Linked DNA regions of Homo sapiens: region 1 is linked to region 2. Evidence: promoter capture Hi-C in 16 types of primary human blood cells and fetal thymus (Javierre and others, 2016). All regions are on one chromosome and are shown on one strand. The core of a region is centred on a gene start or on the middle of the fragment in contact, and the rest is flanking DNA. Distances in the headings are between cores, read along the strand shown.

The links. Contacts are between HindIII fragments. The CHiCAGO score rates a contact against its expected background, and 5 or more counts as called.
Region 1: a contact is called between the fragment with the promoter of LIMD1 here and a fragment that was not itself captured in region 2, in 4 of 17 cell types (erythroblasts, M1 macrophages, fetal thymus and 1 more). The highest score is 8.0, in erythroblasts.

The regions. Positions count from the first base shown.
Region 1 is chr3:45,590,051-45,596,047 of GRCh38, forward strand. It overlaps LIMD1 (LIM domain containing 1), which reads left to right and starts at 4,701. Exons shown (of 8, transcript NM_014240.3): 1 at 4,701-5,997. The coding sequence starts at 4,830. RefSeq lists silencers at 3,708-4,177, 4,188-4,317 and an enhancer at 4,408-4,577. The HindIII fragment of the contact is 13,631 bases long and covers 472-5,997 here.
Region 2 is chr3:45,045,448-45,050,949 of GRCh38, forward strand. No RefSeq gene overlaps it. Among named protein-coding and RNA genes, the nearest start is that of CLEC3B, 22 kb to the left of the region's middle. The HindIII fragment of the contact is 2,440 bases long and covers 159-2,598 here.

The DNA.
Region 1 (5,997 bases), core at 3,451-5,950, 550 kb after region 2:
GGCAGTGGGGGTGGAGAGTAATGCCTACAAGCTTCTGGAATGCTGAGCACTTCAGCTAAGCCAAGATACGGGGAGGCAGGAGGGCATCAAGGATTGTGGGCTCACATAGGTGCCAATGTCACAGGATACTTGGGGTGTTGCTTTTCCAGACAGAAACCTCTGTGGCTAGTGGTGCCTTTGCCCAAGTTTTGCTCAGGCCTGCTGGTTTTGTTTCGCCCACTTAGCCTGACAGGCTGTGCTCAGCTCGTGCTACTGGTGTGGATCCCATGCTTGCCAAGGGCAAGCCAGCCATGGAGCAGCGAGAGCTGTGTGAGCAAGCAAGCATGGGGTCTGGCCACTGCACACAGCCAGGCATGCCAGCTGTGGCAGTGCAGGCAGCTCCAGGTGCCAGCACGGGCACAGCTGTGGCTGGACCAGGCGTACCACAGGCAACTTCCACCGCTGGCACTGGGGAATGCGGTGGCACCTGGAAGCTTGGAGACACCAGGAACCGCAGAGCCCCAAAGAGGGTATCATAACCCTGGATTGGGGTGCTCCTAGGTCTGGGCTCCCCAAAGGGCTGCAGCTTTTCTCTCCTTCTCTCTTTTCTCCTTCTCTCTTCTCTCCTTCTCGTTGCCCACAACGTGGCAAGCAAGGGGTGTGTTTCAGTCCTGTTTGTGTTACAGATCTTTTAGTGCCACCATTTGCCCAGTGGGTCCCAAGTTCTTGTCCTGTGTCCACAAAGAATGAAGTATGCAGACAACTGGAGGGTGAGCAAGGCAGAAAGGAGCCTCACTGAGTGGCAGAACTGTTCTCAGTGGGTATCTCCTTTCCTCAGGCAGGTTGTCCCGATGAGTGTCCAGCTCTCAGTGGAGAAGAGACCCACAGTGGGTAGCTGCCTTCCACAGGCAGGTTGCCCCGATGTCTCTGCAGCCTTCAGCAGAGAGACCCAGAGTGGGTAGCTCCTATCTGCAGGCAGGTCATCCCATTGTCTGCCTGAGTCTGGCTGAGTCTGGTTTTTTTTATGGACTTCAGAAGGGAGGAAGTGTGTGCTGATTGGTCCACCGGCAGCCATAGGCAGGCCCAGGAAAAGCACCATAAATTCTCACTCCAGTCTGCAGGACTGATAGCTCAGCCCCTAGGTTTCAGGCTGTCCCTGTCTTGAAGGGGGCTTCACTGGGGACCCATCCCATTTCACCCAGGAGCCTGATTGCCCCCTGCTGCCATCAACCTGCTGGCCATGGCACCCATGGCACCCAGGCTGTTCATGCTGAGGGGTGCCTGCAGGTACATGCCGAACTGCCCTCAGCCTCACCCTGGCCTCCCTCCCATGCTCATCGGCACCCAAAGTCTGGAGGGGGCCGAGGCGGCAGGGGACTGGTGTGTCAGTGCTGCCCTGAGTGCGTGCACCCCCAGCTGGGTCGTGACAGTATCTGGGCTCAGCTTCAACTTTGCTCCAAAATCAGAATGGGCACCAGGAGAGGCCAGGCAACAGGAGCAGGCACTTCTGAGCCTGTGGGAGTAGGGGGGCTTTCTAGGTCCCCGGGAGCACAGGGATGCCCAGGTCTGCAGCCACAGCTGGGTGGATGCAGCTGTGCCTGGGAAGGCAGGGCTCCCGCCCCACCAACTCAGAAGGGAGTGGGGCTCCTGCCTGTTCCTAGCTCCTACCAGCTCTATGGAGCATGCAGTCACGGCCTCACCTCGCCATTGCAGCTAGCATCATGGCAGTGGCTGCTCCAGATGGACCACTGCTGCCATCACCAAGATAGGATGAAAAGAGAAGACAAATGTAAGAGCACTGGTTGGTGTCTGTGGCTCCTGCACCAGGGTCCCAGCTGTCCAAACTGAAAACCCAGGAAGCTGGCTCTGAGCTTACTGGACTTTGCAGAGGGATGGCCATATATTCCTAGCACTTTGTCAGCTACAACTGCCATATTTGGAGGTCAGGCAAAGTGAGCCAGTCTTCCACTCCAAAATCCAGTTTTTAATTAATAAGTATTACCCAACACCTAAGGAGTGTTTAATTATGATTACCTCTGAGAAAGGGGATGGTAGGCAACTTTTAAAACTTTATATATGTCTGTATTGTTCAAAGTTGTTATAGAAACATGTATTACTTGTAGATAAAAAACCAAAAAAAATTTTTTAATAAAAATACTTCATTTTAGTATAGTGCTTTATAGCAGTGCTTCTGTAACTTTATTGTGCAAATAAACCGCCCAGAAATCTTGTTAAAATGCAGATTCTGATTCAGTAGGTTGGCAATGGGGCCTAAGATTCTGCATTTTCAACAAGCTCCCTGGTGATATGGAGTCCATTAACCATACTTTGGGTTTACGGCAGCGGTCCTCAATCTTTTTGGCACCAGTTTCACAGAAGCCAATTTTTTCACAGACGGGATGAAACTGTTCCACCTCAGATCATCGGGCATTAGATTCTCATAAGGAGCGTGCAACCTACATTCCTCATGAGGGTAGTTCATAATAAGGTTTGTGCACCCCTCTGAGAATCTAATGCCACTGCTGATCTGACAGGATGTGAAGCTCAGGCGGTAATGCCAGTAATGGGGAGTGGCTGTAAATACAGATGAAGTTTCGCTGGCTTGCCTCCTCTCACCTCCTGCTGTGCCACTCAGTTCCTAACAGGCCACAGACCAGTACTGGTCAGTAGCCCAGGGGTTGGGGACCCCTGGTTTACAGAATATAAAGCACATTCATATATATTATCTTATTTGTTCTCTGTCACAACTCTGGCAGATAGGGGTTCACTAATTCACTTATTCGACCATTAGGTACTACTATTAATATATACCAGGCACTTGGCATACAGATATGGTCAAATGGAGTGGGAAACCTACCACCCAACCAAACAAAAAAAAACGCATGTTAACCAACAAATAAATAATTATAAATAGTTATCAGAACTGAGCAGGAAGTAAAGAGGGTGCTGAAAAAGAACAACAGGAACCACTCTGAGGAGGCCTCTAAGAGGAGGTGACTTCAGCAGGGATGGGAAAGATGAGCCACTCAGTTTAGGGGCAAGCTCTGGGCAGACACCAGGAAGCTCCTGCAGCTAGAGTGCAGGGAGGGAGGGAAGATCCCTAGATCTGGCCCAGAAGGCTGCGGCAAGGGGCCGATTTCAATTTAATTCTGGGGTAAGCACTGAGGATTTAGGTAGAGAAGTGTCTGTTCTAGTATTTGCCTTAGGATCACGATGGCTGTAGTGTGGGAAATGAAACCTCTCCAGGATCGCCTGGGAACTGGTATAGGGAGTCCCGGGCCATGCGGGGGCGCCAAGGAGTCAGGCCTGGTGTCCCTGCAGCCGCGCGGATCCACTTGCAGATGGGTCCCTCTACGAATAACGAGCCTACTAGGGCACGTGCTTTTACTGCTGCACTGAGGACGTGAAATGCGCGCAGGCACAACGAGACTTTCTTCTTTTTCGCTCTTTCAGAGGGCCCGGGCTCCCATCTACGCTTTGCTGGTTACGTTGGCATGTTGGGCATTTCCCCCTCTCTGCCTCAGTCTCCCGACCTGTCAAAGAGGACGGTGGGCCAGCCATGGGTGACACGCCCGTGCGCCTCTCCAATAGTGCACCTCGGGCAAGCCGGGCGGCGGGCACAGCCTGGACGGTGCCGGCCTCGAGAGGCACAAAGGGCTGGCTTTCCACCGGGGAAACTGAGGCAGTGGAGCGAGGAGCGGCGTCCTCGAAAGTCCTCGCAAACTCCCAGCGCCTGTGTTGGGCCCATGCAGGCTACCCAGGCCGCCCGTCTCCGAGCGGAGGACCCCGCCCAGCGCTGCCAGGGGCGGGGCCGGGCTGAGGACCCGAGGCTGGAAGGGAGGTCGGAGCACCCAATTCGGTCCAGGACTCGCAGGGGGCGGCAGTGGCGGCGGCGAAGTCCCGTGCAGTCCCAGTGCTAGAGCGTGGGACGGACTTGTGGGGCACCCCTCGGTGTTCTCCAGCCAGGCCTGGGGGCAGGAGGCCCAGCCACGCTGCCGGGTGCAGGCCTGCCCCTGGGCGCCCGCCCGCGCGCCGTCCCCGCCCCTCGGCCGCCCCCTCCGCCCCGGCGCGGGCTCGGGACGTGCAGAGCCGGCGAGCGAGCAGCAGGGACTGCGCCTGGCGCACTCACTTCCGCGTCCCGCCGCCCTCCGGCCCGCGCGCGCCGATCCGCCGCCGCCATCGGACAATGGGCCGCCAGCCCCAGCTGCCGTGAACTTCCTGCCGCTGCTCGGCCGCCCGTGCGTCCCGGACGGCGTTCCTGCCAGGCGCCGGCCGGGATCGCAGCTCCGGGGAAGCAGCGGAGGACCCAGCGCCTGGAACGTACCTGCGCCTCAGCCGCCGCGCGTTTGCTCCGGCCCGACTCGCGGCCTCGGCGCCCTCCCGGCCGATTCAGCTTCACCCGGCCCAGTCGGCTGCTGCCTTGCTGTGAGTTTCCGTGTTTGGTTGCCTAAGGAGGATGTGATTTTACTTTTTTGCTGTTTTCTTTTTCCTTTTATAATTTGAAGAGGAGAAAAGAACTCCGCTGAGCAGGCCCGGGACGGCGAAGTGCCACCAGCTACCCCAACAAGGACGTCTCCAGGGGAAAGGGAGTTGGAAGCAAACTTGGTCCAGCTGGCGTTGAGGTCTCAACTTCGGCTGGACTCTTAAATCCTGGGGTCATGCCCTTCACGCTAGGCAGGTGGAAGTCTTTACTTGTACTGGGCCGGACTTGAGCCCCGACCCTTCGCCAGCATCTCCCCGCTGCCCTCAACACACACACACACACACACACACACACACACACACACACACACACACACACACACACACACACACGGCACCTGGGCTAGGCCCGGACACCTGTCTGCAGCATGGATAAGTATGACGACCTGGGCCTGGAGGCCAGTAAATTCATCGAGGACCTGAACATGTATGAGGCCTCTAAGGATGGGCTCTTCCGAGTGGACAAGGGTGCAGGCAACAACCCCGAGTTTGAGGAAACTCGCAGGGTGTTCGCCACCAAGATGGCCAAAATCCACCTCCAGCAGCAGCAGCAGCAGCTCCTGCAGGAGGAGACTCTGCCCAGGGGGAGTAGAGGCCCTGTCAATGGAGGGGGCCGCCTGGGCCCACAGGCCCGTTGGGAAGTTGTGGGCAGCAAGCTGACTGTGGATGGTGCTGCCAAGCCTCCTCTTGCTGCCTCGACAGGGGCACCTGGGGCAGTCACCACCCTCGCTGCTGGGCAGCCCCCGTACCCACCGCAGGAGCAGAGATCCAGGCCATACCTGCATGGCACGAGGCATGGCAGCCAGGACTGTGGTTCCAGGGAGAGCCTGGCGACTTCTGAGATGTCTGCTTTCCACCAGCCAGGCCCCTGTGAGGATCCTTCCTGCCTCACTCATGGAGACTATTATGACAACCTCTCCTTGGCAAGCCCAAAGTGGGGTGACAAACCAGGAGTGTCCCCCAGCATCGGCCTGAGTGTAGGGAGTGGGTGGCCTAGCTCCCCGGGGAGTGACCCACCACTGCCCAAACCCTGCGGGGACCATCCCCTAAATCACCGACAGCTCTCCCTGAGCTCCAGCAGGTCTTCTGAGGGTAGCCTCGGTGGTCAGAATAGTGGCATTGGTGGCCGCAGCAGCGAGAAGCCAACAGGCCTTTGGTCCACTGCCTCCTCCCAGCGGGTGAGCCCTGGCCTGCCTTCCCCAAACTTGGAGAACGGAGCACCAGCTGTGGGGCCTGTTCAGCCCAGGACCCCTTCTGTGTCAGCACCCTTGGCCCTGAGCTGCCCCAGGCAAGGAGGTCTTCCAAGATCAAACTCGGGGCTGGGGGGTGAGGTTTCAGGTGTGATGTCCAAACCCAATGTGGACCCCCAACCCTGGTTCCAGGATGGGCCCAAATCTTACCTTTCCAGTTCTGCCCCGTCATCCTCGCCAGCTGGTCTGGACGGTTCACAGCAGGGTGCGGTCCCTGGGCTGGGGCCGAAGCCTGGCTGCACAGACCTTGGCACTGGTCCCAAGCTCAGCCCCACCAGTCTTGTCC
Region 2 (5,502 bases), core at 129-2,628:
GACCGTGAGCTTATCTACATAAATGACAACAGTGCCTGTGGCAAAAAGGATAAAGATGTCCTGGAGGAAATGATGCCAGCAAAAAACCACGAAAAGGAATTCTTAGAGATATTTTGTGACATTGAAAGCAAGAAAGATAAAATGTAAGAACTAATCCAAGCTTGAGAAGGAGGATGACAATTTTCCGGGAATAGAAAAGATACCCACTGAATCGAAATCTATATATAATGGGAAGGAAGTGGCAAGCACTGTCCAAACGGTTCTCGGTAAGATTTTCACAAAGAAAACACTTTAATTTCCAATGTTTCTAATGTTTTCAATTAGTGTATTTAATATCAATTTTTGCGACTTTTTCTCTTACTGACAGTAAGAAAGTTTAATGTTTTGACAAACATTTTTGAAAGGTCAGAGGACAATCGTCCTCTTCCCCATCGATTATTAAGATTGTTTTGCATGGTTTCAGCTTACATGGCCATTTTACAGTCCTAGACTACTGTGCAAAGTGAGTGCTTCCCATACTTACACAGCTCTGGGTACTATTCAGCAAAACGACAAGGGATATTAAGGCATTCAGAGGCTGGCCACAGCGGGAAGTACCCTGTCAGGCAGAAGGCCACAGGAGGAAATAATGCTGCTGGAGCCATAGCCGGTCCACGCAATAAGCGATCTCTCGGTGGAGGACATAGCCATAGACAGAAAATGCAGCAAAGCACACAGAGGAGACTGGGAGGAAAGAGCCCAGCACCTGCCTCTGTACAACCTCTTAACTCTTGCAGGTGCTTTCCACTGGGGGAAGCCAGCTGGAAGCCAGCTAGCCGTGGGTCCGGGCAATGCAGTCTGGTCAGACTCCCAGGGCACAGAGCTGGGTGGAGGTGGATGGAGCCCAACTGGGGGCTTACATACACTTAACATTGTACTTTCTTTCTTTCTTTCTTTTTTTTTTCAGACAGAGTCTCACTCTGTCACCCAGGCTGGAGTGCAATGGTGCAATCTTGGCTCACTGCAACCTCCACCTCCTGGCTTCAAGCAGTTCTCCTGCCTCAGCCTCCTAAGTAGCTGAGATTACAGGCACGGGCCACCACGCCTGGCTAATTTTTGTATTTTTAGTAGAGATAGTGTTTCACTATGTTGTCCAGGCTGGTTTTGAACTGCTGACCTCAGGTGATCCGCCTGCCTCCCAAAGGGCTGGGATTACAGGAGTGAGCCACCGCGCCTGGCCGTACCTTCGTGTTTATGTCCATGTCCTGCAGTTGAGGACAAAGCTATCTGCATCTCTGAGTACCACTGATAAAGACAAAGTAAGCAGAGGTGGAATCCAGGTTTCCATGCTCTCAATGTAGGGCTCCTAACATCTCCAGTGATCCAGCATCCCCTTGGAGCTGCTTACCAGCTTGACTAGGACAACACACAGAGTTAGAGGTCAATGAGGAGGAAAAAAATGTCAACAAAATCTTTCTTCCTGGCCCCCCAAAAGTGTTTTGGGGCTCTAAAATACAAGCATATGCTTCACATGTTTCCAGTGAACATTTTCCATGTCAAATATACCTCTGGCTTTTTTTTCTTTTGTCCTGGCAAGCTGTGTTGCTTCTGGATTTTTAATACTCAAACCCCACAAAATGTATCTCTCAATGTTTTTCATCCAGTGTTTTTAAGAAAAATTTCTATTGACAGTCCACAAGACTCAGTGGATTTTAATCAAGATAGGCTGGGAAAGTTTCAGATTACATCCCAAAGACAATGGTTAGAATGGCAGGGCAGGTGTGGGTACACCTCTTTCAGATGTTGCTGTATAGGAAGTGTAGTGCTTGGAATCGAGTTTTACGGCATTTTACTTTCTGACATGATAGTTTCTGTAACTTACATAAGGGATTTGTGTGTGTGTGTGTGTGTGTGCGTGCGTGTGTGAGTGTTTTAGTTACATATTTGGAAATCTACTGGGGACTTGGGGCATTCATTAAGCCAGAGTTTACCATTTAAATAGGACAGAGGGTGCTATTCTGCAGAATGCTTGATTTCCATGAATGGTCTACCATTAGGAGATGGCTGTATGTTGCCCTGTTGCTCTGGGGCTGGTTCAGGGATAATCCTTTCCATATGAGAGCTCCCAGTCTCAGAAGTCTCCCCACTAAGCCTATCTAGAATGCCCCTCAGTGCCCATTTAAGTCACCTGTGCTGCTGGTTTCCTTGCAAGAGGACTAAGAGGATCAGCCGGGCAGTGTTTCAAAACCTCGCCACTATTGGCATTTGGGGCTGGATAATTCTTTGTTGTGGGGGCTGTCCTGGGCATTGTAGGATGTTTTCCAGCATCCCTGACCCCTGCCCGCTAGACGCCAGCAATACCCTGCTTCAGCTGTGATAGCCAAAAATGTCTGCAGACCAGTCCAAATGTCCCCTGGGGGGAAAAATTACCCCCAGTTGAGAAGCTGAGAACCACTGAGGTAGAGGGTAGCTGCAAATTTCCTCACAGAAAGGTGCCATGAAAATGTAGTAGTTGAAGTAGAATTTATTTATTTTTGATGCTTCTAATTGCAATTCTGTTACTTAACATGACATAAAGAAACCATATTTCCCAAAGCAAAATTCAGAATGCACAACAAAAGCTTTTTTTAAAAAACAAAAACAAAGACTCTTGTACGAATGTATTTACTCACCAGCAGTATACAGTTTAAGGCACATTTGTATAGGGGTTTTTTTCTGCTCTCTTCCGCCTTTATCCTTCACAGGTATTTCCCTTAATCAATCTCTTGTATGTTTAATTCCTTCTTGGCCTCCGCTTCTAGGAGAACTTAAATGGATTCAAAGACTCAAAAAAAGTGGTAGTGGCAGCTGAAGCCAATATGGCCATGGAGGGCACCACTCAGATCCCTTTAACAGAACCTGCTGCAAGGAGCAGAGTGGACTGACAGCCTTGGCTGCCACCCCTAAGGACACTAGACCAGACTTACCCCGGCTGCCTCTGGGCAGTGACTGAGTACGTAGGAGCGTTTGTGCTGATCCATTCCTACCCAACGAGGGTGACTCCTCTCATGGAGAATTTTAGCTTGGGAACTCCCCAGCAATCTGGCCAAGATGTTCTCAGAACTGTACTGCAGTCTGAGGTTCTTCCACCTAGCCTTTCCTGCTCTCTCTTTTACACAGGTGTGGGACCTGTGTTGTGGAGGGCTCTCCCTGCCTATTCCTGCTCCCTTGAACCCTGGATCCTTCACAGGTGTTGCCCCCAAAACATCTCTTACACTTCTAATCCCATCCTGTCTGCTTCTCAGAGAACAGACAAGTAATGAATTCCCTTCACTAAAACAAAATTATGCAAAATATAATATGTATAATAAAATTATACAAGCTATAACAAGGTAATGGAATAATTATACTATTAAAATCAGAGATGTACCAGAAAATCGGCATGTACAATTACCTTAGCTTTGCTTCCCTTAGATGTGTTCTCTTAGGAAAGGATTGCATTCCTAAGAGAATTATCTGTATTAAGGAACAGGCACTCCATAATTGCCTTCCCCACCCCTCCACCTGGAACTTTCTCTAATAATGTAGAAGACACCTGCACACCAATGGTATCATAATCCTTTTTCCTGACGTGGCTTTGGATTCCATTCTATCCAGATAGAGGAATGGAACCCCGGATCCATTCAGTTCACAGAGACACGAATCCTCTAAGCTAAGATGTCATTTTACCCTCACCCCCAAACAAACCTGCTTCCTTGTTCTTGTCTATCCCTCCTCTTCTTCTTCCTCTTCAAATGTGATGACCATTATTCAACATGAAGATATGAGTCTGGGATATAGAGCAGGCTGAAACTTAAGGACTGAGGCTTTGCCTTTGTAGCCAGAAAGAGAAAAGTAGTCCCTGACAGCTGGCTCTTACTGGCCAGGTGCTCATGGCTGGGCTGTAATGTTTTTCTGCTGAACCACAGCCTATCTCACAGATTGCCAGCATCAGACAGGGGCTGGCAAAAACAAGACCATTCTGTAATCACGTCTGAGTAGGGACAAAAACAAGGTCACTGTGAAAATCACAAGAATCACTAAATATCCCCCACTCCAGCTAACACAACTGACTGCTTGCTGTTTTTTTAACCAATCACAGCTTTAGCCCTGCTGCACGCATTCCACCTTCTGCATAAAAATTAAGATGCCCTCTCATAGTATTGCTCCTGCCTCCTGATAGCATCCAATCCAGCGCAAACCCCTGCTTCCTTAAGACGTCTCTCAAATCAGTTAACATGAGCCCATATATATTAGAAGTCCCTTCTAACACCGTCTTACTGAGACACCCCATGGTTCCTCATCACAGACAGACTCCCCCACTGCAACAAATTAAAAAATCCAATTTTGTTCCTGGGGGTCTTTGGCTACAGGGCACAGGCAGTAGTTAGTTGGTCAGGTCCTGGCCAGTTCTATGACTCTGGCTCCCAAGGTGCTAGATTCTGCCTATGAAAGAAAAGGATAAGAAATTAAAGAGTACAAGACAATGAGGAGGAAAAGGATTTCATGACAGACAGCTCAGATGGGGATGAATCTCCTGACCAGAGTTCCCACTCCAACTCTCATTGCCCTGTGACCTTGAACAATTCATACGAATTCTTCCTCATTGGTAAAGTGGAAATACACTTAACCTTCACAGGGCTGTAAAACAAGTTCCAAACCAATCAAGACCGAGAACAAGCCATGTACAGTGGCCAGCATACGGAAAACACATGCTGCACGGGTGGGAGACACTGGTGAGTTGGACTTATAGTGAGTTGAGGAGAAGACCGAAGGTCCTGAGAACTGAGGAGGAGATGAACTGAGAGAGAGTGAAAATCTGGTCATTTTGGGAGAGAGAAGAGCTAAGAACATCAAGGGGAAACAAAGCTGGAAATAGGAATTTAGGACACTGATATGGTTTCGGTGTTTGTTCCCTCCAAATCTCATGTTGAGATGTGATCTCCAGTTTTGGAGTTGGGGCCTGGTGGGAGGTGATTGGATCATGGCGGTGGACTCCACATGAATGGCTTAGCACTATCACCTAATTCTCTTGGTGATGAGTGAGTTCTCACTATATGAATTCACCCAAGAACTTGTTGTTTAAAAGGAGCCTGGCACCTCCTCCTCTCTCTTGCTCCCTCTCTTGCCATGTGGCATGCTGCATCCCCTTCACCTTCTGCCATGACAGGAAGCTTCCTGATGCCCTCACCAGATACAGATGCTGGCACCATCCTTTGTGTACAGCTTGCAGAACCATGAGTCAAATAAGCCTCTTTTCTTTATAAACTACCCAGCCTCAGGTGTTCCTTTATAGCACTGCAAATGGACTAACACAGAGACAGAGGAAATTGGTGACCAACATTATCCCAACTGGGAGTTCTTTGCCCTTGAAGGGTACCTCAGCTTACGACCATCTTGCTAGGGGAAAAGAGATTTGGGGAGGCACCGGGAACTGTAGCAGAGAAATAGTGGTAACGGATAAGGAGCAACATTGGAAAGATGAGTGTTGAGGGAGAGGCCAAG